Linked DNA regions of Homo sapiens: regions 1, 2, 3, 4, 5 and 6 are each linked to region 7. The links are contacts of gene promoters, found by promoter capture Hi-C in blood cells and fetal thymus (Javierre and others, 2016). All regions are on one chromosome and are shown on one strand. Each heading gives the region's core, a stretch centred on a gene start or on the middle of the fragment in contact. The rest is flanking DNA. Distances are from core to core; before and after follow the strand shown.

The links. Contacts are between HindIII fragments. The CHiCAGO score rates a contact against its expected background, and 5 or more counts as called.
Region 1: a contact is called between a fragment that was not itself captured here and the fragment with the promoter of NME5 in region 7, in 1 of 17 cell types (total CD4 T cells). The highest score is 5.0, in total CD4 T cells.
Region 2: a fragment that was not itself captured here is called in contact with the fragment with the promoter of NME5 in region 7 in 12 of 17 cell types (naive B cells, total B cells, total CD4 T cells and 9 more); the score reaches 14.4 in naive B cells.
Region 3: a fragment that was not itself captured here is called in contact with the fragment with the promoter of NME5 in region 7 in 5 of 17 cell types (naive B cells, erythroblasts, total B cells and 2 more); the score reaches 7.8 in naive B cells.
Region 4: a fragment that was not itself captured here is called in contact with the fragment with the promoter of NME5 in region 7 in 1 of 17 cell types (erythroblasts); the score reaches 6.1 in erythroblasts.
Region 5: a fragment that was not itself captured here is called in contact with the fragment with the promoter of NME5 in region 7 in 1 of 17 cell types (erythroblasts); the score reaches 5.8 in erythroblasts.
Region 6: a fragment that was not itself captured here is called in contact with the fragment with the promoter of NME5 in region 7 in 10 of 17 cell types (total B cells, naive B cells, activated CD4 T cells and 7 more); the score reaches 7.3 in total B cells.

What each region holds. Positions count from the first base shown.
Region 1 is chr5:137,727,077-137,729,942 of GRCh38, reverse strand. All of the region lies in intron 1 of KLHL3 (kelch like family member 3), which reads left to right. Among named protein-coding and RNA genes, the nearest start is that of KLHL3, 7.6 kb to the left of the region's middle. The HindIII fragment of the contact is 4,572 bases long and covers 1-2,866 here.
Region 2 is chr5:137,770,263-137,773,367 of GRCh38, reverse strand. No RefSeq gene overlaps it. Among named protein-coding and RNA genes, the nearest start is that of HNRNPA0, 17 kb to the right of the region's middle. The HindIII fragment of the contact is 4,693 bases long and covers 1-3,105 here.
Region 3 is chr5:137,664,833-137,667,800 of GRCh38, reverse strand. All of the region lies in intron 6 of KLHL3 (kelch like family member 3), which reads left to right. Among named protein-coding and RNA genes, the nearest start is that of MIR874, 19 kb to the right of the region's middle. The HindIII fragment of the contact is 793 bases long and covers 1,322-2,114 here.
Region 4 is chr5:137,744,956-137,748,021 of GRCh38, reverse strand. HNRNPA0 (heterogeneous nuclear ribonucleoprotein A0) reads left to right here. Exons shown (of 1, transcript NM_006805.4): 1 at 1-2,371. Among named protein-coding and RNA genes, the nearest start is that of HNRNPA0, 7.9 kb to the left of the region's middle. The HindIII fragment of the contact is 2,517 bases long and covers 101-2,617 here.
Region 5 is chr5:137,808,641-137,811,497 of GRCh38, reverse strand. It overlaps the pseudogene NPY6R. Among named protein-coding and RNA genes, the nearest start is that of HNRNPA0, 56 kb to the right of the region's middle. The HindIII fragment of the contact is 3,463 bases long and covers 1-2,857 here.
Region 6 is chr5:137,790,708-137,793,407 of GRCh38, reverse strand. No RefSeq gene overlaps it. Among named protein-coding and RNA genes, the nearest start is that of HNRNPA0, 38 kb to the right of the region's middle. The HindIII fragment of the contact is 2,125 bases long and covers 354-2,478 here.
Region 7 is chr5:138,137,868-138,140,735 of GRCh38, reverse strand. It overlaps NME5 (NME/NM23 family member 5), which reads left to right and starts at 1,308. Exons shown (of 6, transcript NM_003551.3): 1 at 1,308-1,365; 2 at 1,951-2,084. The coding sequence starts at 1,956. BRD8 (bromodomain containing 8) reads left to right here. Exons shown (of 27, transcript NM_139199.2): 26 at 1-31; 27 at 570-966. The coding sequence ends at 662. The HindIII fragment of the contact is 15,003 bases long and covers 1-2,868 here.

The DNA of each region.
Region 1 (2,866 bases), core at 233-2,732, 410 kb after region 7:
GAAAGAGGATGAAGAGTATGGGGCTCTCTGGTAACCTGTGTGTAAATGGTACTTTGTGATAGCAGGACTGCACCACCAAGTCCTGAATCCTGCTGGCTGGACATCTTCAAGAGTCAGGTTCTTCATTAATCCAGAAGTAGAAATCTAAGTTTGATCATTTTGGTCTTGAACTTTAGGATTGGGATACTTACTAGATCTGCAGTTTGACCAGAGTGCCAGGGGCTCAGAAATCCTATCTATATAGGGTCCCATTGCTGTCCAGAGTTGGAGAAGCAGAGTCATGCCAATGACCTCATGAGAACCTAAAATACAATAGTCAACATGTCATCAGTTTATTGATTTGCAGTAAAATATTACTGGCAAGATATTCCTGAGGGCCTGCAACCACATTCTACCTCTCTGAAGGACAACCACGGGGGAGGCCAAACTGGTCAAAAGGCTGCAGAGTAAACTAGGGACTGAGTTATGGCATTGGAGTATTTACAGACTTCAAACTCCACCATGAGGATCTGACCTGAGGCTGAACCAGCTGACGATATCTGATGATTAAATCACTTTCCTAGACAGAGTGTGATGGGTTGGACCGAGGGCTTTCTTCTCTGTCTGATTCTTAGTTTTTGGTTATTCCTTTCTAAATGACACTTTCTTTGTTGAGAGTTTTTAATGCATTCAGCACAGCTTTGCCCTGGCTCACAGTTGTTTTGCCTTCATTGAGTGGTTTTGCCTCTTTATTCCATCTCATCTCTAGCTTGAACATAATGTGCTTGGGCCTCTTGTATGTGGCCAGTATCAGCTCATGACTTCTGAATTTTATTTGCATCTCTTGGAGACCTTTAGAGGTGAAACAGATCATAACCTTTAACAGCATTTCTCAGACTCCACTTTCCTTCCCTCTACATTCTCGCACACCCAAGATGTTCTGGAACTCCTCATTTGTTTTTTCTTTTCTTTTTTTTTTTTTTAACTTTTATTTTAGGTTCAGGGGTACACGTGCTGGTTTGTTATATAGGTAAACTTGTGTCACAGAGGTTTGTTGTACAGATTAGTACCTGTCATCACCCAGGTAGCCAATAGTTATTTTTTCTGCTCCTCTTCCTCCACCCACCCTCCATCCTCAAGTAGGCCCTAGTGTCTGTTGTTCCCTTCTTTGTGTCCGTGAGTTCTCATCACTTGGAGCTCCTCATTTGTTGGATTCCCCCAAACATTGCTGCACAATCAGCCTGCTTGGAGACTCTTCTATCCCCTGCCTTTCTAGCATGTTTTTTAGTATCCTTTCCTTTCCATTCACTGCCTCCATTTTCCTCAGCAATAGAAAGAGTCTAAGAACTGACACAGTAAGCAGTAACCTATCTCACTTTCTTCCCTCTTCTCTAGTTGTTGCTGGCTTTCTCTCACTCCCATCCTCCTGATTCTGTGTCATCAATGCAGGGGACTGGGCTGCCTAAGAAAGTACTCCTCTCTGAACGTGAGGTGGAGGGGTCATGGAGAGAAAGTTGAGGGGGACAAAGCCATCAGTATTTTAATGAAGGGGAGTGAGGAAAGCTACAGTGGTCAGTAGTTAAACCTAATTTACTTATCTACCTATTAATTTACTCAGTAATCATTCATTGAGCACCTGTCATGTGACAGAAGCTAAGAATTCAGAGGCAACTAAGATAACTGTCTTGGTTCTCATGGAGAGCTCACAATCTAGAGGGGGCAGCAGTGTGCTGGAGTCAGCACTCACCCACTTGGAAAAGCTGTTTGTTAAATTTTCAGGAATTTTCGGAGCCAGTTATTAAATATAGCCATTATTAACAAATTATGTAACTTATAAATTATATTAAAAATGAATGTAATAAATACCCCAAACTCATCACTTTCTAATTATTTTTTACTGTAATCTTCTAGGGCTTTGAGGTTATGTCTATTGTGTCTTGGTGTAGAAATACTATACAGTGATATGATGGTGTGCTGTTGCACATCTCTTCCCAAATCTCATGTTCGGTGGCATCATGTTGGTAGCTTAAAATCTGCCATGGTGGGAGTATTTACAGTCTGGAAATTGGCAAATGTTACAAATCAGGGCTCCTTTCCTCCCAATCAACTGTTAAACATTTACCAGCACACACTGTGTGGGGCAGACAGATAAGTAAGAGGTAATTAGAATACAATACAGAAGGAAGCACAGTACTGTGGGAATACAGAACTGGGGAAACTAACCTAGTTTCCCACTAGATTTTAACTAATCTAGTGAGTAGTGGAGAATGAGAGGGAAGGCTTCAGGGAAGAGGCTTGAAGGCTGGTAGGAACTAGCTAGACACGGGAGAATGAGTGGGGAATAAGATAGAACAGTTTTCTAGTGAGACAAAACTTCACAAGGCAGAGAGCCTAGTGTATTTTGGCTATTGCAAGTATTTTAGTATTACGGTAATAAGAAGTCTTCAGGGCAACGATGGGATTAAGGGCCAGGCTAGGTCCCTGAGATTTATTCTGAATGCAGTGAGGAATCAGTGAGGCTTCATGTAGAACATGCCTGGAACACATTGACATTTTGGAAAAGTCCCTCTGGAGTCTGGGAGGAGGTTATTATAATAATCCTGGCAAGAGACAATGATGACCTGGAATGGGGTTGTAATGGTAGCGAAAGTGAGAAGGAAATGGGGTGCAGGGATATTAATGGACATAGGATTGATTCGATTTATGGCTGTATGTGAGGAGTGAGAGAGAGAGAGAGGGAGGAAGATATCAAGGATAACACCCCAGTTTTTGGCTTGGATAGGTGATTGGGTGGTTGGTTATGCCTCTGAGATAGAGAATACAGAAAGAGTAGCAGGCTTAAGGGAGGGTGGGGAACATAAATTTTGAATAAGTATGAATTACCTGT
Region 2 (3,105 bases), core at 59-2,558, 370 kb after region 7:
AAGGAAACAAGATTTCTTGAAATCGCTGATTCCAGGATAGGGCAGGAAAAGTCCAAGATGAGCCTAAAATATCTTGTCAGGCCAGAAAGTAAAACGTGCTCAAAGAATTATGGGGACATGTCAAAAGAACACAGAAGTCAGTTTGAATGAATTCCCAGTGGCCAAATCTGACATACTTTGGGTACCAAAGTAAATAATAGTAGTAGAAGATTACAATCCATGGAATAAAAACAAGAATTCATAAGTCCATGTGAATATAAATAAATGAATAAATAATTGGGGAGAAGAGATCTAGTAAGTGTAGATGTAATGCTTGAGTAGGAAAATCACCATTTATAAATGATCATAGATTTATAAATGATCATAGATTCAGCCAAGAATCATCATGAATATTAAAAATTAGTGGATGGAAGTTTGCTAAGGAAAGGGATATTATGTAGTTTCAAAATACCTCCACACAAATTTAGTACTTACAAATCGGAAGAAAAGCAACTTCAGAGTGGAAAATCTGGCAGACACTGCCTTAATTGAGTGATTAAAATTAACAGTAATGGGACAAAAATAAATCATTTACTACCTGATAGGTTGCCTTATCACTTCTGTGACGTTCCTGTCAAAATATGTAATCTTAGTCTAATTATGAGGAAATATTAGACAAATTCAAATTGAGGTACATTATGCAAAGTAACTAGTCTATAAGTCTGCAATCTTCAAAAGAGTCAGGAGTCAAAGAGTCAAAGTCTTCAAGAGAGTCAAAGTCTTCAAGAGAGTCAAAGTCTTCAAGAGAGTCAAAGTCAAGGAGACTTAAGAGGCATAACAACCAAAAGCAGAGTGTGATTCTGGACTAGATCCATTCACATTATTCGGACAATTGTCAAAACTTGAATGGGGATTGTGGGTTAGTTGGTAGTGATGGATCAATGTTAATTTCCTAATTGTGATGGTTATATTGTGGTTACATAGGAGAATGTCCTTGTTCACAGCAATTATACACTAAAGTCTTAGTGGTGGGTACTGGGGCATCATGTTGGCAATTTACTCTTTACTGTTTCAGGAAAAATGTTATTTGCATTATTATTGTTGCAACTCTATTGTAAGTTTGGAATTATTTCAAATTACAAAGAAAAAACAATTTTTAAATTAGTAAGCTAAAGGTTTTCATTAAAATATCTTATTAAATATTTTAAGTACATCTAAATATCTTAAATATAAATAATATTTGTTATCTTAAATATTAAATATCTTCCGTATTGAATTTTTTTTAGCAAGGCCCTTGCAGATAACACCACATTCTTTCCACTTTACACCTGTGTATTATATAAATTTTTTTTCTGTGTGCACCATGACATTAAAAAGGCTGTGGAACATTAATTTAGACAAAGGGCACCATATGTGCAAAGGCCTGGAGCTCAGAGAGCATGTCTTTTAGGAGAATTGCAATCAGTTAAGCATGTCTGGAAAGTGGAATTGGTGGTGGGGTGGTTGTCAAGGGAAAAGACATCTAGCAACCTCAGCTGGATAGTGGTGCCATTCACTGATCTAGGGGGTCACACTGATAATTCAGTTTTATGGCTCTAAAACTGATAGCACAACATTAGTGAGGGTGTACCCTAACTAGTAAAGCAACCATTTGTCTAGAAACTTTTCCCAAGATGCTTCCTGACCTCAGAGTTCAAACACAAATTGCCCTAAACTTGTGCCTCTAAGAGGGAGAACTCAGAAATGTGAAGAGTGATAGAAAAGGTGGCTGGCCTCTGTTGTGTCTATTATACTATCAAGTAATTTAGCAAAAAGGACACATTACAGTAGATACATGTGATAGGACAATTGTTTAATGCTCAATAGAATATGGCTTTAATTGTTGATAATAAAAATAATATATGTCCATTATAGAAAATGCATCAAAGTAAAAGAAGAAAATTTGCAACAACAGTCATCCATAAATCTACCACCTGGATAGAATCCCTGAACCATTATGGCATATTTTCTGACAGTGCTATATAATGTGTTTCTTTGTTATGAAGATTTTCAAACATACAAAAGTTAAAAGGTAAATACAATGAGTACCCATATGCCTTCCTCCTAGAGTCAATAATTATATATACTTTGCCATATTTGCCTTATCTTGTGTGTGTGTGTGTGTGCGCGCGTGTGTGTATGTGTATGGAGGTGTGTGTGTAGATTTTTCTGTTAATACCCTGTGTTGTTCAATGTTCTTTTTTAAATCTCTGCTGATTTTTTTTTAATTTTTATTTTTTATGGGTACATAGGTGTATATATTTGTGGGATACATGAGATATATTGATACAAGCATGCAATGGATAATAATCACCTCAGGGTAAATGGGGTGTCTGTCACCTCAAGCATTTATCCATTGTGTTAGAAACAATCCAATTACACTTTTTTAGTTATTTTAAAATGTATAATTAAATTATTACTGACTATAGTCACCCTGTTATGCTATCAAATACTAGCTTTTACTTATTCTAACTCTTTTTGTACCCATTAGCCATCTTATTTATTTTTTAGACAGAGTCTTGCTCTGTTTGTGCAGGCTGGAGTGCAGTGGTGCAATCTCGGCTCCAGACTTGCTTAACTGCTTGCAACCCCTGCCTCCCGGGTTGAAGCAATTCTCATGCCTCAGCCTCCCAAGCAGCTGGGATTACAGGCACCTGCCACCACACCCAGATAATTTTTGTATTTTTAGTACAGATGGGTTTCACCATGTTGGTCAGGTTGGTCTCGAATTACTGACCTCAGGCGATCTGCCCTCCTTGGCTTCCCAAAGTGCTGGGATTACAGGCATGAGCCACCATGCCCGGCCCCTTTAGCCATCTTTACTGCCTCCCCGCCAGTACCTTTCTCAGGCTCTGGTAACCATTCGTTTACTCTCTATCTCCATGAATTCAAATGTTTTAATTTTTAGCTCCTACAAATAAGTGAGAACATCCAAAGTTTGTCTTTCTATGTCTGGCTTATTTCACTTAACATAATGACCTCCAGTTCGATCCATGTTATTGCAAATGACAGGATCTCATTCTTTTTTAAGGATGAATTTTCTATATCCATTCATCGGTCGATGGACACTTAGGTTGCTTCCACGTC
Region 3 (2,968 bases), core at 469-2,968, 470 kb after region 7:
TGATATTGTCAAAATTAGCGTCTTTCTCTTCTTCCTATGTTTTGCTGAGAATTGCTCCCAATTGAACTTCTCCCCTTGCCAAGTCAGTGCCCTGCCTTTTTAACTGGAGTGCTTCTTGATCTTCAAAACACATTTTGAAAGCAGGGAAAGTACCCCAGGACTCCTCATTTTCCTTGGGGTGTGCAAGTCCAGCCTAGCTTGGCTGCCTGTCTGTCCAGAGTGTTGGAGTGGAAGGTCTGGATTCATCTGGTATTCTCTGGCCAAGACCTGTGCTTACATCTGAAGTGTGGTGAGCTGGGAGCTATGGAATCTGATTTTCTCCAACTCCTTTCCACTTGACAGTCTTGTAGCATGCAAGAAATTGGTTCTAGGACATTAATCAGTGAGGAAATGGGGCTATTTCTTTGTTTAAAAAGTGAAACCCTAAGTGTACCTATGAGCAGCTGATTATTTCATCACAAAAAGTAGTAGCTAAGTAGATATCACCCTATCCTATGATTGAATCTATAGTCTCTGCTTAGATTTTATAGACCAGGGGTTGACAAACTTTTTCTAGGAAGGGCCAGATAGTAAATATTTTAGGCTTTATGTTGTCGTGGCTTCTCAACTCTGCTACTGTAATGTGAAAGCAGCCATAGACAATATGTAAACGATGAGTGTGGCTGCCTTCCAACATAATTTTATTTACCAAAACAGGTGGCAGGCTGGATTTGGCCTGTGGGCAGCAGTTTGCAACCCCCCTGCTATTAGACCTATTAGACATTTGAGAGTCAGCTAAGAATAATGGATTTAGAGCATAAGCACTGAAGTTGGTTTTGTATGTAACCAAGCAGAGCTGGCTCTGCTTCTTTTTAGTTCTGGGACTTGGGCAAGTCATTTAATAAGGCTTAAGAGTATTTAATCATTGGGTTATCTTGAGAATTTGGGGAGGCGATGTTTATGGAGAGTCCCTTGGTGGGAAGGGTTATTGGGAACCATTTTGGGTACATTGAAAGCTAAAGCAAGTTGGAAGTTTATTTGCTTGTTTATTTTTCAAGCATGAAGTCTGAATGAAAAAAATATGTGGCCTTCTCTAGCTGCTGAGAAGGTCACTGTTGTTGCCGAATGCTGTGGCTTTCATAGCTGAGTAGATAAACAGTGTGACTAAGTGGAACTAGTTACACAAGTGAAGCCAAAAATAAAGATAAGGTTAAATATCGACTTTGGTAGATTCAGCTTGCTTTTTTGTTTTTATAACAAAAATTAAGCTGGTTGATGGGGAAGAATGTGATCAATAAATGCTACCCGCTTAAGGACTTGTAGTTCATTCTTCAGCTAAGCTTTGCCAATCAGTTACCTTGTGTTGTGCTAGGCAGCATTGGGAGATGGCGTGCAGAGACAGAGCTGGTACACTTCTCACTCTGCATAGGCTCACAGTCTATAAAGGGAAGTAGAAAGAGGTGTGGCTAACCAACCACATACAAGGCAGAATGGGGTTGTGGCTGCCCATCACCTAACCTGGCAAAGGCAGACTATCTGCCTTTGACTCTGCCTTACCCACTAAGATTCCAACCCCTTGTTCCCCAGCCCTGCTCTCTGCTCCAGCCTGGGCAGCTTCCACACATCTCCTTCCATGCTTATTCTGAACTCATTTTCCATTCATTCACTTAAAAAATATTTGAGTTTGTGTTATGTGCCAGCAAATAAGACAAGGTCTCTCATGGATCTTAAGGGCTAGTGGAAGAAACATAGTCGTTCAAACAATGCTGTGAGGATGAGGGACATAGCTCGATAAGAGTTCCTAATAAAAAATGAACTAGACAGGGATTTCTATGGTGTATGTGCTTATGTTTGTACACATATAGGTTATTTGATATAGAAATAGGAGCAAACTATACATACATACTACTCCTTTCCTTTTCTGCTCCCTTCCCTTCCTTTCCCTTTCCCTTCCCCTTTCCCCTTCCCTTTCCTTTCCTTGCCAAATTCAAGTTATGTCCAGCCTGACTTAAGTATATAATTAGAAAACAGGGCCAAGTGTTTTAGGGGAAAAGCACATTAACATATTTGCACAAAAAAAATGTACTTAGGTTAAGAAAAATTGGAGTCCTTTTTTCCTCCTGGCAGATAAAGCTTTCATTTCAACTTTCTGCCATCCTATAAATTTTGTTGTAGTTTTTTTCCTTAGAATTTCTTTTCTTCTCTCTTACACTGCTTATTCTGAAAAATTAAAAACCTACTGTAGGTTTGAAAGAATGAACATTCATGTAGTCTTTACCTAAACTCACCATTAACATTTTGCTTCATTTACTTTATCTCTCTAGACTTAATCTTTCATTTTGCTTAATCATTTGACAGTAAATTGCAGACATTATGACACTTCACCCCTAAATATTTTAGCATGTATCTCTTAAGAACGAGGAAATTCTCTTTTCTAGCCATAAAACCAATTATCATACCAATGAAATTTAATATTGATCTAGGAATATTATCTAACATATAGTGGATAGTCATATTTTCTTACTAGTCCCCCAAAAGTCATTTATGGCTATTTCTTTTAGAGCCATAATCTAATTATGGTTTATGCACGGCATTTAGTTGCCTTGTCTATAAATCTCTCTAATCTAGAACTGTCTCCCTACCTTTTTTTGTCTTCCATAATATTAACAATTTTGAAAATCCAGGCCAGCCGTCCTATAGAATGTTGCAAACATAGAGTTGTCTGATCGTTTCCTCACCGTAAGATTCAGGTTATATATTAATATTTTAGGAAGAATTGTACTTAGGAGATACTGTGTCTTTTCAATTAAATCACAATCAGGAATATAAGTTTGTCCTCTTATGGGTGGTGGTAAATTTGGTCCCTTGTTTAAGGTGTTGTCTATCAGATCTCTCTATTTGAGGATATTTTCCCTCCATGTAAATAGTATGTAATCTGTTGGGTGATTCTTTGAGAATTGTGACTCTTTCCCCATCCAACAACTTTATT
Region 4 (3,066 bases), core at 110-2,609, 390 kb after region 7:
GAAAAGTAACTCCCAAGGACCCCCAGCTGGTGACATGGTAGAACTGAGAGTTGAATCCAAGTTTGACCAATTCTAGTTGTTTCGCTCCTTCTACTAAGCTTCATTGACTTCCAGCTAACAAATGTCTAATTTGTACTAAGATAAAAGAGAGTTGTGAGAAATAAATTGAGAAAATGAAGTTGGAACCAGGTTACTGAGGTCTTTGAGTAGTAGGCTAAGGAGTTTGGACTTAGGGTAGGCAGTAAAAGTCATTAAAGGTTTTTGAGCAACAATAATGGTAGTGAAACTAATTCACAAAGATTAGTCCAGTAGCACTGAGTAACATAAATGGCAGTGGGGGATGTTTCAAAGTGGCAAGTTTGCTAAGACAACTGATGTTAACCAGGTAAGAGAATGAGAGCATGAACAAAGAGCAATGGAAATAGACTGACAAAGAAGTTGAGGTAAGTTGTGAAAGCATAATTGACAAATATTTGGATATATGAAGAATGAGGAAGAGAGAGTAGATTAATCAAAATTACTGTGTGAGAGGATGGTGATGCCACTGGTAATAGGAAGAGAAGATTTAGAGGGAAGATTTGGACATAGTTGAAGATGCTGGTAGCACATTGAAGCATTGTGTCTTGCGCATATAGCTTTACAAAATGGCCATTGTGCTGGATATTCTTTTTGCCCTTCCTGATCTATTTTCCATCTTTATCTCTCTTGTTCTGTGTTCCTGGGAGGCTGACAAATAAAGAACTGCATACTCTCTTTTCTGGCTTTATTCATGGTGGGTTTGGACAGTGATAGAAAAGTGAGGCTGAAATATTTGCTCCTTCTCTTTCTCATATACTTAGCAAGAGATTGTGAGTGGCCACAGCTCTGCTCCAGTGGCCCTCTTATAGCTCTAGGTCTTTTCTGGCTTCTCGTAACTGTCTCCTATTGCTAGATTCTCTAGTCCCAAGAAGGTTCAAACCTTGTTGATTTGCCTTAACTGTGCCCATACCCTTGTAAATAGTTCCTTTTATTAAAACTCTTCAATAACTGAATATACTGTGGTCATCTCTTCAGTGAAATTAAAAAAAAAAACTTCTTTCACATTTTCTTATGACTTGATCTTCCCACACCACCAAACGTGAAGATCTAGCTATTTGCACTAGGTTACTATCCCTAAATTCAGTGCCTCCCTGTTTCTTAGTATGTCAAGTTAAAATTTGTTACTCTTCTGCTGGGTGATTGTGCTGGAAATACAGAAGAAAAAGACAAAAATCCCTGCCCTCAAAGAGCTTATATTTTACTGGGGAGAGACAGGCAATAAGACATAATCAATTATATGGTATGTTAGAAGATGAGAAGTATAGAAAAAATTAGGGTGAGGAATGGCGATTGTTGCAAGGGATGTTTGTGAGGATAGCATACTTTAAAATAGGTGGTATGGGTAGGTCTCTCAGAAAGTGACATTTGAGCAAAGACTTGAAGGAAATGTGGGAGTGAGCAATATAGGTATGGGAAGAGCATTCTAGGTAGAGGATTAGGAAGAGCAAAAGCCCTGAAGCAGGACTGTGTCTGGCCTCTGAAGAAATGCAAATTGTTCAGGGTTGTTGGACCTGAAGGAAGAGGAGGAAAGGAATAATGAGGCCAGAGGGGCCAGATCATGTAGGGATTTGTAGGTTGTTGTAAGGATTTTGGTTTTCACTAAATGAATGGTGAACCATTTCAGTTTTGAGCAGAGGAGTTCCATGATCTGATTTGAATTTTAAAAGATGTGTTTCCCAAAATTCCTATTCCTTTCATACAGCTGCTTTCAATGAAGGTTTATAAGGAAAGCAATCAGAACTACTTGGATAAGGTATAAGTGATCCACAATCTTTTCAACTCTACCATAGGTATCTACATATATATGTTGAGAGATGCTGCTTTTTGGCCAAAATGAATCTTGAATTGGGGGTGTGCAGAAAAAGTTATATCTGGCCTGAGGCTGGTATCTTTTAGAGTGGCCTACTTGCATGGTTGGCCCTTATCTGAACACGTGGATTTAGGGGTATTCTCACTGTTCACTAATAAAGGTGGTTCACTGTACCTAGACTGTTCAAACAAGATGATTTATGCTAAACACCTGCTTTCCTTCTGGGAGTATGGAATTTTGGTACATGCCAGGTAAAGGATGTCTATATGACCAAACTCCCAATGAAAACCTTGCATACTGAGTCCCTAGGCAGAAACATCCCTCGTATAAAAATGTGCTCTGTGTGAATCTTCATGGGAGGGAGAGATCCTAAAGAAGCCTGCACATGGATTCCTCCAGATTCTGCTTATGTCTTTTTCCTGTATGATCCAACTGTGTACACTTACTGTGTCACTGTAATAAACTTTAGCCATGAGTACGATACTTAGCAGTGCTGAGTTTTGTGAACCCTTCTATCAAATCTCAATATGGGCTTGGTCCGGGGGATCCCTGACACAGGCAGATTTTTTTTTTTTTTTTCAAAGAGTCACCAAGTTAATTGGAAAACATCAGGTTATGGATAGAAGGAGCAGTTGGGCAACCTGTCACAGAAGTCAGCCAGCTCTGTCTAGTGGAGAGCTCTTCTGAGCTGTTTCTGCTTTGTTAATTCCTTTTCTTTCTCCAAAAGCTTCCCTCCATTTGGTTTTGTCACACTTTATACATTTGTAACAAACTGCTGACCGGAATTTGTCCATCAGGTTATGAAAAATGGCAAATGAGGAGAGTAAAATTATGGATTTATTTATTAAGAACTATTAAAGTATTCATATGCTCTGGGACACCATTACTAGGAATTTAACCTTAACAGAACAGTTTATTGAAAAATTTATTGAAAGGAAAACAGTCTTTGCATAAAAATTATGACGTAGCAAAAAATTGGAAACTAAATGTCAAATATTAGGGAAATGTTAACTGTGGTCTGTCAAAAGGTGAAATATTAACTCAGTGTTATCAGGTGAATGAATTAACAAGATGTGGTATATACATACAATGGAATATTCAGCCATAAGAAAGAATAAATTTCTGGTATATGCTACAAGATGAATGAAAACATGCCAAGTGAAATAAGCCTGCACAAA
Region 5 (2,857 bases), core at 341-2,840, 330 kb after region 7:
TGGCACTAAGCCATTCATAAGGGATCTGCCCCCATGATCCAACACCTCCCATCAGGCCCCACCTTCAACACTGGGTATCACTTTCCAACATGAGATTTGGAGGAGACACACATCTAAACCACATCAAATTGTTTGATCAGAATCATTTTAGTAATGACAACTAGCATCATATTTCTTTTCTTTTCTTTTTGTTTTTGAGATGGAATCTCTCTCTGTTGCCCAGGCTGGAGTTCAGTGGCATGATCTCCACTCACTGCAACCTCTGCCTCCTCAGTTCAAGAGATTCTTCTGCCTCAGCCTCCTGAGTAGTTGGGATTACAGGTGCTCACCACCATACCTGGCTAATTTTTGTATTTTTAGTAGAGATGGGGTTTCACCATTTTGGCCAGGCTGGTCTCGAACTCCTGACCTCAAGGGATCTGCCCACCTTGGCCTCCCAAAGTGCTGGGATTACAGGCGTGAGCCACCATGCCTGGCCTAGAATCGGTATTTCTTTACCAAGTAAGTAAAGTGACATTTACAGCTACTGCCATGAGATGGTTAGATTTTGTTTCGTTTGTGTGTTCTGCAGTGCTTTTGTTGTTCATTTATTCCAAAATGATAAAACAGAGAATAGAAACCCTAAAGAGAATGAATAAAGAGAGAATAAGGGAAGGAGGGAAAGAGGAAGAGAGAAAGAGATTTTCAGGAGAGGAAAATGTGAAAGCTAATGTGCAAGAAAAAGCACAATAGAAAAATCACAGATGTTTCCAGAAACATTACTTTTTATTCAAAAGAAAATATAGTTACTTTTAAAATTTTTTTTTGAGACAGGGTCTCACTCTTTCATCCAGGTTGGAGTGCAGTGGTGTGATCATGACTCACTTGATCTCCCAGGCTCAGGTGATCCTTCCTCTCATCTAAGTAGCTGGGACTGCAGGTATGCATGACCACACCTGGCTAATTTTTTGTATTTTTAGTAGAGATGGAGTCTCACTGTGTTGCTCAGGCTGGTCTTCAACTCCTGGGCAAAAGTGATCCTCCACCTTGGCCTCCCAAAGGGCTGGGATTACAGGTGTAAGTTGCTGAGTCCAGCCTACAGTTACATTTTTAACATACAAATAAGCTGCAGTTCAACTTTGATAGATATAGGGGAGGTTTGTTCTAAGAAGTGGTAAAGCTGGTCACAATTTAATAAAAGTGACTTCAGTTAATAGCAATTTGAACAGTAGCTTAGTGTCTTTTGAGAACAGTCTAGTTGATTCCCCTGTGTAAGCAACTCTGTGGGGATGAGGGCTCTTTTAAAAATGTTTAAGCCACAAGATATATGAGAAGGTTTTAAAAATCTGGCGCTAATTATAAAAATGCTACTGACAAAGTCTCTGAGATCCAGTAATAGAGTCATAATGACCTCTTTTTAATATACATAAAGAATTAGGGATTAAAAGCCACTTTGTGAGGAAAGCTGTATCTACATTGGCCATTAATAAGTTTGTTAGAGCAATTTCTAGCATAATTGCTATGCTAAAGAATTTGTGGCCAGTTCTAATAGCATTGTTAGTGAATAAAATGTACTGTTATCATAAACTGGAGATATGATTCAAGCATGGGAATTAATTGTAATTACAACACTTCGTTTAAATGTTAAGTTAAAACCAGCCCTTCAACTTTAGTCCAAACTTAGTTTGTTAATTAATTAATGAATTTTAAGGGGGGATTTTCTGACTTGGCTAATTAATTGAATAGTTATATGATTGAAAGTTACAGTTTTCATATCTGAGAATAGACTTGCTTCAGTGCTAAGGAGGTATAGCAGTGTTTTTACTAGGCATATCATTAGTCATAACTTTTGTAGATATTCCATTGAATAAAAGTATCTGTGAACATTGTTCCCCAGCCATCACTGCTGTTTGCCTCTCTCTCTGCTTTCTCATTCTCATTCTTTGCCACAAATGATGGCGGGCAGGTTGTTTGAATTATTAGAGTTATTTTCTTAAGAGAAAAGGGGTGGTATGTGTGTTCGTGTATGTTGGAGGGTGTGTTGGATAGACATATGAGACAGGCAGTCTTAGCCTAAAGGAAAAGTGGGTATAAAGTTGCTATTTTTGGTTCTGGTTTCTTCTTTCTGCATCTTGCCCTATTCCCACCATTACCTGTCCAGCTCCCATTCAAGAAGAGCTTCAGCATTATCAATTTTCATATACCTGTTGTTATACGAGCCAATCTTAAAGACCTCTTGGAGTCTGTGTGCATAGTGGAGATGGCAATATTTTCACATCTTTCCTGAGGTGTGAAGCACCAGCAGTGGTGAATAAGCACTACCAGGTCCTTTTGGAAATTTTTGTTGAGAAAGCCATAAAAGAGAGGGTTTATACATGTGGAAACCATAGCAACCAAGTGGCAAACTACAAATACCAGGTCGTGGTGGCAGCTCATCAGCACCTCATGATACCAGTCAAAGATGACATTGAAGATATTCGGGGCAGCCAGCAGGCTCCAAAGGTCACCACGATGGAAATCAACATTGTGTTGATCCTCTTGTTCTCATTGAGCCGGCCCTCATTTTCCTTCTTCTTATCTACCTTTGCATTTCTCCTGCGGAGGCAGATAACAATCTTCAAGTAGCAGATGAGGATGAAGCCTAGAGGAACAAAATACTGCAGCAGAAAAAGGGAGGTGGTGAAGAGCAGCCGGTCCTTTTTGGAGGGCCAGTTCTCCACACAGGCCACCTGGTGGGTGTAGAGGTCAGTGGGGAGAGAGAGGTTGCGGAAGGGCTCATCAGTGAGGTGGTAGGACAGGAAGAAGGGAATAGACAGCAGAAGGGAAAACAGCCAAATCAGTGTGATGCCCCAGTAGGCATGAGTCACACTGGGCTTCC
Region 6 (2,700 bases), core at 167-2,666, 350 kb after region 7:
AGTAAGTGATGTTTTAAAAATTTTAGATGTAAGTACTATTGTTTAACAAAAAGTTGGGAAATACCATGAGGGGAAAAATAATATTGTCACTGTAATACCTGAATTTTAGCATTTTAAAGGATTATCTGCTTTAAAATGTGTCTTAAGTTCATCCTTTTTCAAACTCCATTGCCATTCTAGTCATCCTAGTTTAAGCCACCATCATTTCTTACCTGGACTAAAGCAATGGTGTAGTTACTTGTCTCTCCACGTTTTCTTTTACCTCCTTCCAATCATTTCTCCACACTGCGTCAGAGTAGATTTTGAAAAAAAAAAATAAATGAGATCATGTTGCTTTTTCTTCACCTAAAGCTTGTTGACAGTATCTAATTGCAGTTGTGGTAAAATCCAAATTATCTACTATTCCTTATGAAGTCTTATATGATATCTGCCTCTCCAGTTTTCTGTCATATCTCTCCCCTTCCCCACATCTATTAAGTCCTTCCCAATGTTAGTTTTAAGGAGAAGTTTTAATAGAAGACAGGAAGAACTCTGTAGCTTGATTGTTAAATGGCAGCTAAAATAAATACTTTATTTTTGACAGTGCTTACTTTTATATCTATGTTATTATAGGACCCCACCTTCTCTTAACGCTCTTTGATGATGGCTGGTTAAGTTTAAAGGGGTAAGGTAGAGGTAGGGGTGGGAATTGGCAACATAAATTAGAAGATATTTCAAAAATGCTACTGCTTTTATCATAAAAATCCATTTTTTTTGGTAGAACATAGTTTAACAAGTTTCCCACTGATGGACATAGATTGTTTCTAGTTCTCCAGTCCCATTGTAAATACCACATTATAAACAATGACTTTTGTGGTTAAATATTAGCCGACACTCATTTCTAGGAAGTAACAGTCAGGGGTACACTGTTAAATATTAGCCCACACTCATTTCTTAAGGAAGTAACAGTCTGGGGTGTACTGATGTTTGAGCATGCCTGACACATCTTCATATCCAGACCTGATCAGTATGCTATGATGCCATGGCAGACAAATAAGTCAAAGCATAAAAACCATTGAAATAACTTTTGCTAGGATTTCATTTGGAATGTTGAGGTCAGTTGATTGTATCAAGTTCCTTCATCCCTGTCATCTTTGGCTGTTCCTCAAAATGTAAGCCCATTCAGGCACTGTTCCCCTCCAGTACCCTCTTGCCCATTTTGTTCAGAGCATCACATGGTCCTTCTCTGAGGACCCTGATTCCTTTGCTGACTTAACTGAAAATGTACCTTCTCTCACAGTCCAGGCCTCACAGGACTGAATATAGTAGTCCTCCCTTATCATTGAGGGATACGTTCCAAGATCCCCAGTGGATGCCTGAAATTGTGGATAGTGCTGAAGCCTGTGTACACAGTGTTTTTTTTCTGGACCATAATGGATGGGTTGCATATGCAGCATGGATATACTGGACAAAGCGGTGATTCATACCCTAGGCGGGACAGAGCACGATGGTGAGAAATTTCATTATGCTACTTGGAATGACAATTTAAAACTTACAAATGGTATATTTCTTAGATTTTCTGTTTAACATTTTTGTACCATGGCTGATCCCAGGTAACTGAAATCATGGAAAGCAAAACCCCAGAGCGAGGGACTTCTGTATATCTATTCAGTTGAGCCTCATTCAAGGATTCTGTATTTACAAATTCACCTACTCACTAAAATTTATTTGTAACTCCAAAATCAGTACTCAGGACTTGCATGGTCATTTGTGGACATGTGCAGAGTGGTTCAAAATTTAAGTCACCTGATGACTCGTTCCCAATTGAGGCTGAACAAGGCAACATTGTCTTCTTACTTCAGTTCTCACACTATAAACAATTGTCTTTTTGTGGTTGATTTAGTGCTTTTTTTTTTTAACCTGTTTGTGCTTTTTGTTGGTGATTTCACTGTTTAAATGGCCCCCAAGTGTAGTACTGAAGTGCTTTCTAGTGTTCTTAAATGGAAGAAGGCTGTGATGTATCTTATTGAGAAAACATATGTGTTAGATAAACTTTGTTCAATCATGAGTTATAGTGCTGTTGCCATGAGTATATTAAATAAAATATCATTAAGCAGAAACACTTATAAAACAAGTTATGTATTGATTGGTTGATGAACATGTGACCAGAGGCTTACCAGGAACCTAGCCCTATATTTCCCCTAGGATCAGAGCTTCAGTATTTGCTAGTGCAGTGTTCATGACAGTTTTATAGAGACAACTACTGTAAATGACAATAATTGTCTTTATTTCTGGCTTTCTCTTGCCATTTTGATGACTTCTTTTCTACTTTGTGGAATTTCATTCCATTTGGGTGTGCACCTCTAACCTTTTACTTCAGTGACATTTTGTGACTCAGTTCATTATCTTCAACAAACATTAATGTAGTGCTTTCTGCTTCTTAGGAAATTCTTTATCCTGAGATCATGAGATTTTCTCTTATATAATCCTCTAAAAGCTTTCAGTTTTTATTCTTACATTTAGGTTTATAATCTATTTGAAGTTGACTTTTTGGTTTAGTACCAGCTAGAAATATAACTTCATTTCATTCTCACAGATATTTGATTGTCCTACTACCATTTATCAAAAAGACAGTCCTTGCCCCTACTACTTCACCATGCCATCTCTGTCATTTATCAAGCATCTGTGTATGTGCAGTGGACTGAATGTTTGTATTCCCTC
Region 7 (2,868 bases), core at 59-2,558:
GATGCGGCAAGAAGTCCTGGAGCAGATTCAGGTACTGTATGCAGATACCTGTAGCCTCTGGAATCTTGATTTCAGAACGCCTATGAGAATAAAGGTGATTTCGAGGTGACTGTGTTCTCAGAGTTTATTTTTAAAGGTGATTAAGGCCCTGAAGGATTGATAATGTGCCTGCTGGTTTGGAAAACCCTGAGCCTCAGTAAGTCCAGCTCTGATAGTGAAGTAGTCTAGGAATGCAGGCAGCAGTGAAGAGCTCTCAAGAGAGCTGAGGATAGACAAGTAATGGGAATTCCCGCTTCCAGAGCCTCAAGTCAAGGGCTAAACTCCAAAGAGGCTGGAGTCACTGTGTATTTTTTGGTTGCTTCATCTGTTGTTATTAATGTACGTTCACACTTTCCCATCTTTAGGGGATAAGATATAGTAGCTAGAAGACATTTGTGGGTTTCTTTTCTGGGTAGCATCATACTTTAAAGAAAAAAGTATAGTTGAGTCTATTTGCCAAAAAAATAAACTTGCAATACTTTAGTGTTTAAGGTTCATAATAGCTTGCTATGTGTTCCTTAACCCTTTAGGTACTGAATATCTGGTTAGACAAAAGAAAAGGCTCAAGTAGTCTGGAAGGAGAACCAGCTAACCCAGTGGATGATGGAAAACCTGTTTTCTAACCTGGAGCTGCTATCCTGACTTTTTCTAGAGTTTGAATCTCTCCCGGAACTCTGACCTAGAGAGGATCCTGGTACTTCTTTGCCATGTCCTCATTTTCTTTTCCAACAAGAATAATACCTTAACTCACAACCAACGAGTCAAAGATGCATGTGGACATAATATAAAGAAAAAAAGGGGAAGCTGAGGTTTGGATTTATGCCATAAATGTTGCCCACATCTTTGTTCCATCGGCTTGATTTAAAGACAATTCCATTAGATCTTTTCTAAGCCTTTTACTCTATAAATAAATGTATTTACACAATAGGAATATTGCTTTTTAATGACTAGATAAGCTGGGCATAGAGGGCACAGCATCATCTGGTGAAACGAAGGTATCTGACACGGGTCATTTACATATACCGCCTGGAAAGGAATGGTTGGGGGAGGGGTTCTTATCATTTATAGAGTAGGGATAATTGAAGCATCCTTCAAACGGGAAGAAGGATGAAATAAGATAAATTATGAGTAAAATGTCAGAAAACATCTAGTGCTCTAAGATTCACAAGGAGAATAAAAGTGACTGGCTGGCTCCCTTTGGTTAAAACGAACTGGCCAGAAGCTGCAAGGTTCCTTGCTGGGATTGGCTCTCTGCAGCCACCGTCCCCACGCTGGGGCTTCAGGTCTCCTAGCAACAAGTTGTACCATATGAGGACGGCCGCTGAGGTGAGTACTTAGAGAGGGTCAAATTCAGAATTTGCAGGTGCAACCCGGAAAGTCCCCGCGGACCTAGAGGCCCTGCTTTTCAATTAGCCTGACCCTATGCACAGAGAGGTCCCTGCGGGACAGGGTCGCTTCACAGAGGCAGCTGGCCGAGGCCGCTCACCCGCCGCTGTAATGGTGTGTGGTTGCCCACCAGCCACCGTCCCCTCGAGCCCCCACCACCCGCTCTACCGCCCCCTCGAGCCCCCACCACCCGCCCCACCGCCCTCTGCTGCCTGGGGCTGTTGCTGGTTCCAGGCCTTCGGGTCGCCCCTTGGCCTCTGGTTATGTGAGCCCATAGTCCTTCCTGCCTTGGTGACATCGTATACGAAAAGCCGGGGCTCGATTTGGACATAGTAGGAATCCTATTATTGAGACCCTGTATATAGAAAAACATGGCAGTTTCTACCTTCATCAGTTAATAAAATCAAGTACCTACTATTGCTATTCTTAATCATAATTACATTGAATTTGCGATGGGGGTGGGGGGAAATGCATGTCATTGCAGTTGATACCTGTTAAGAAACTCTTAATTTGTGCCCTGAAAAGCCATAATGGAGATATCAATGCCTCCACCTCAGATATATGTAGAAAAAACTCTGGCCATTATCAAACCAGATATTGTTGACAAAGAGGAGGAGATACAAGATATTATTCTTAGATCCGGATTCACCATTGTTCAGGTAACTTCTGGGTATGATGATTCATGCTTTTTTCCTCTCTGCCCTTAAAAAAAAAATGCTTATGTAAATGTGCCTACCCATTTAAACCCTTAGTGTTCAGCATTAAATTTAAGTTTATTCTTCTAAGTATAAAAGTTATATGTGATAGTTTTTAAAAGGATGTAAAATGAGAAATAAAATGGACTTTTCCTTCACCTGTCCTCTTTTACCCCAAGTCCCAGGCTCCAGAGAGAGGCAACCACTTAACACTTTCTGTTCTTCCAGGAGTTTTCTATGCATTTATAAACATTTTCCCCCCATAAAACAGAACAGTCCCTTTCCCTTGACCCCTTTACAGAGTCCCTCAGATAGGATTCCAGATCATTGCATCTGAATTGATCTCACTCTTCCTAATTTCTGTGTAATATTTCCCTGTGTATTAGAACTACAATTTATTTACTTGATCTTCTATTGATGGAATTTTAGGCTATTGGTACTTTTTTCAGTTATGGCATAACATTTAATGTTTTAAGCCTTATGTTCTGCAATTAGTAAACATTGTCATTCTAGGGGTTTGAAAGTGAATATAAATAGCATTGTTAAGGATAAATCAAATAGAATTGAATATTTTTAATCTTCCTCTTTTATAGTTTTTTTTTCTTTTTTTTGAGACAGAGTCTCCCTCTGTAGCCCAGACTGGAGTGCAGTGGTACGATCTCGGCTCACTGCAACCTCTGCCTTCCAGGTCCCGGTTCAAGCAATTCTCCTGCCTCAGCCTCCTGAGTAGCTGGGATTACAGGCATGC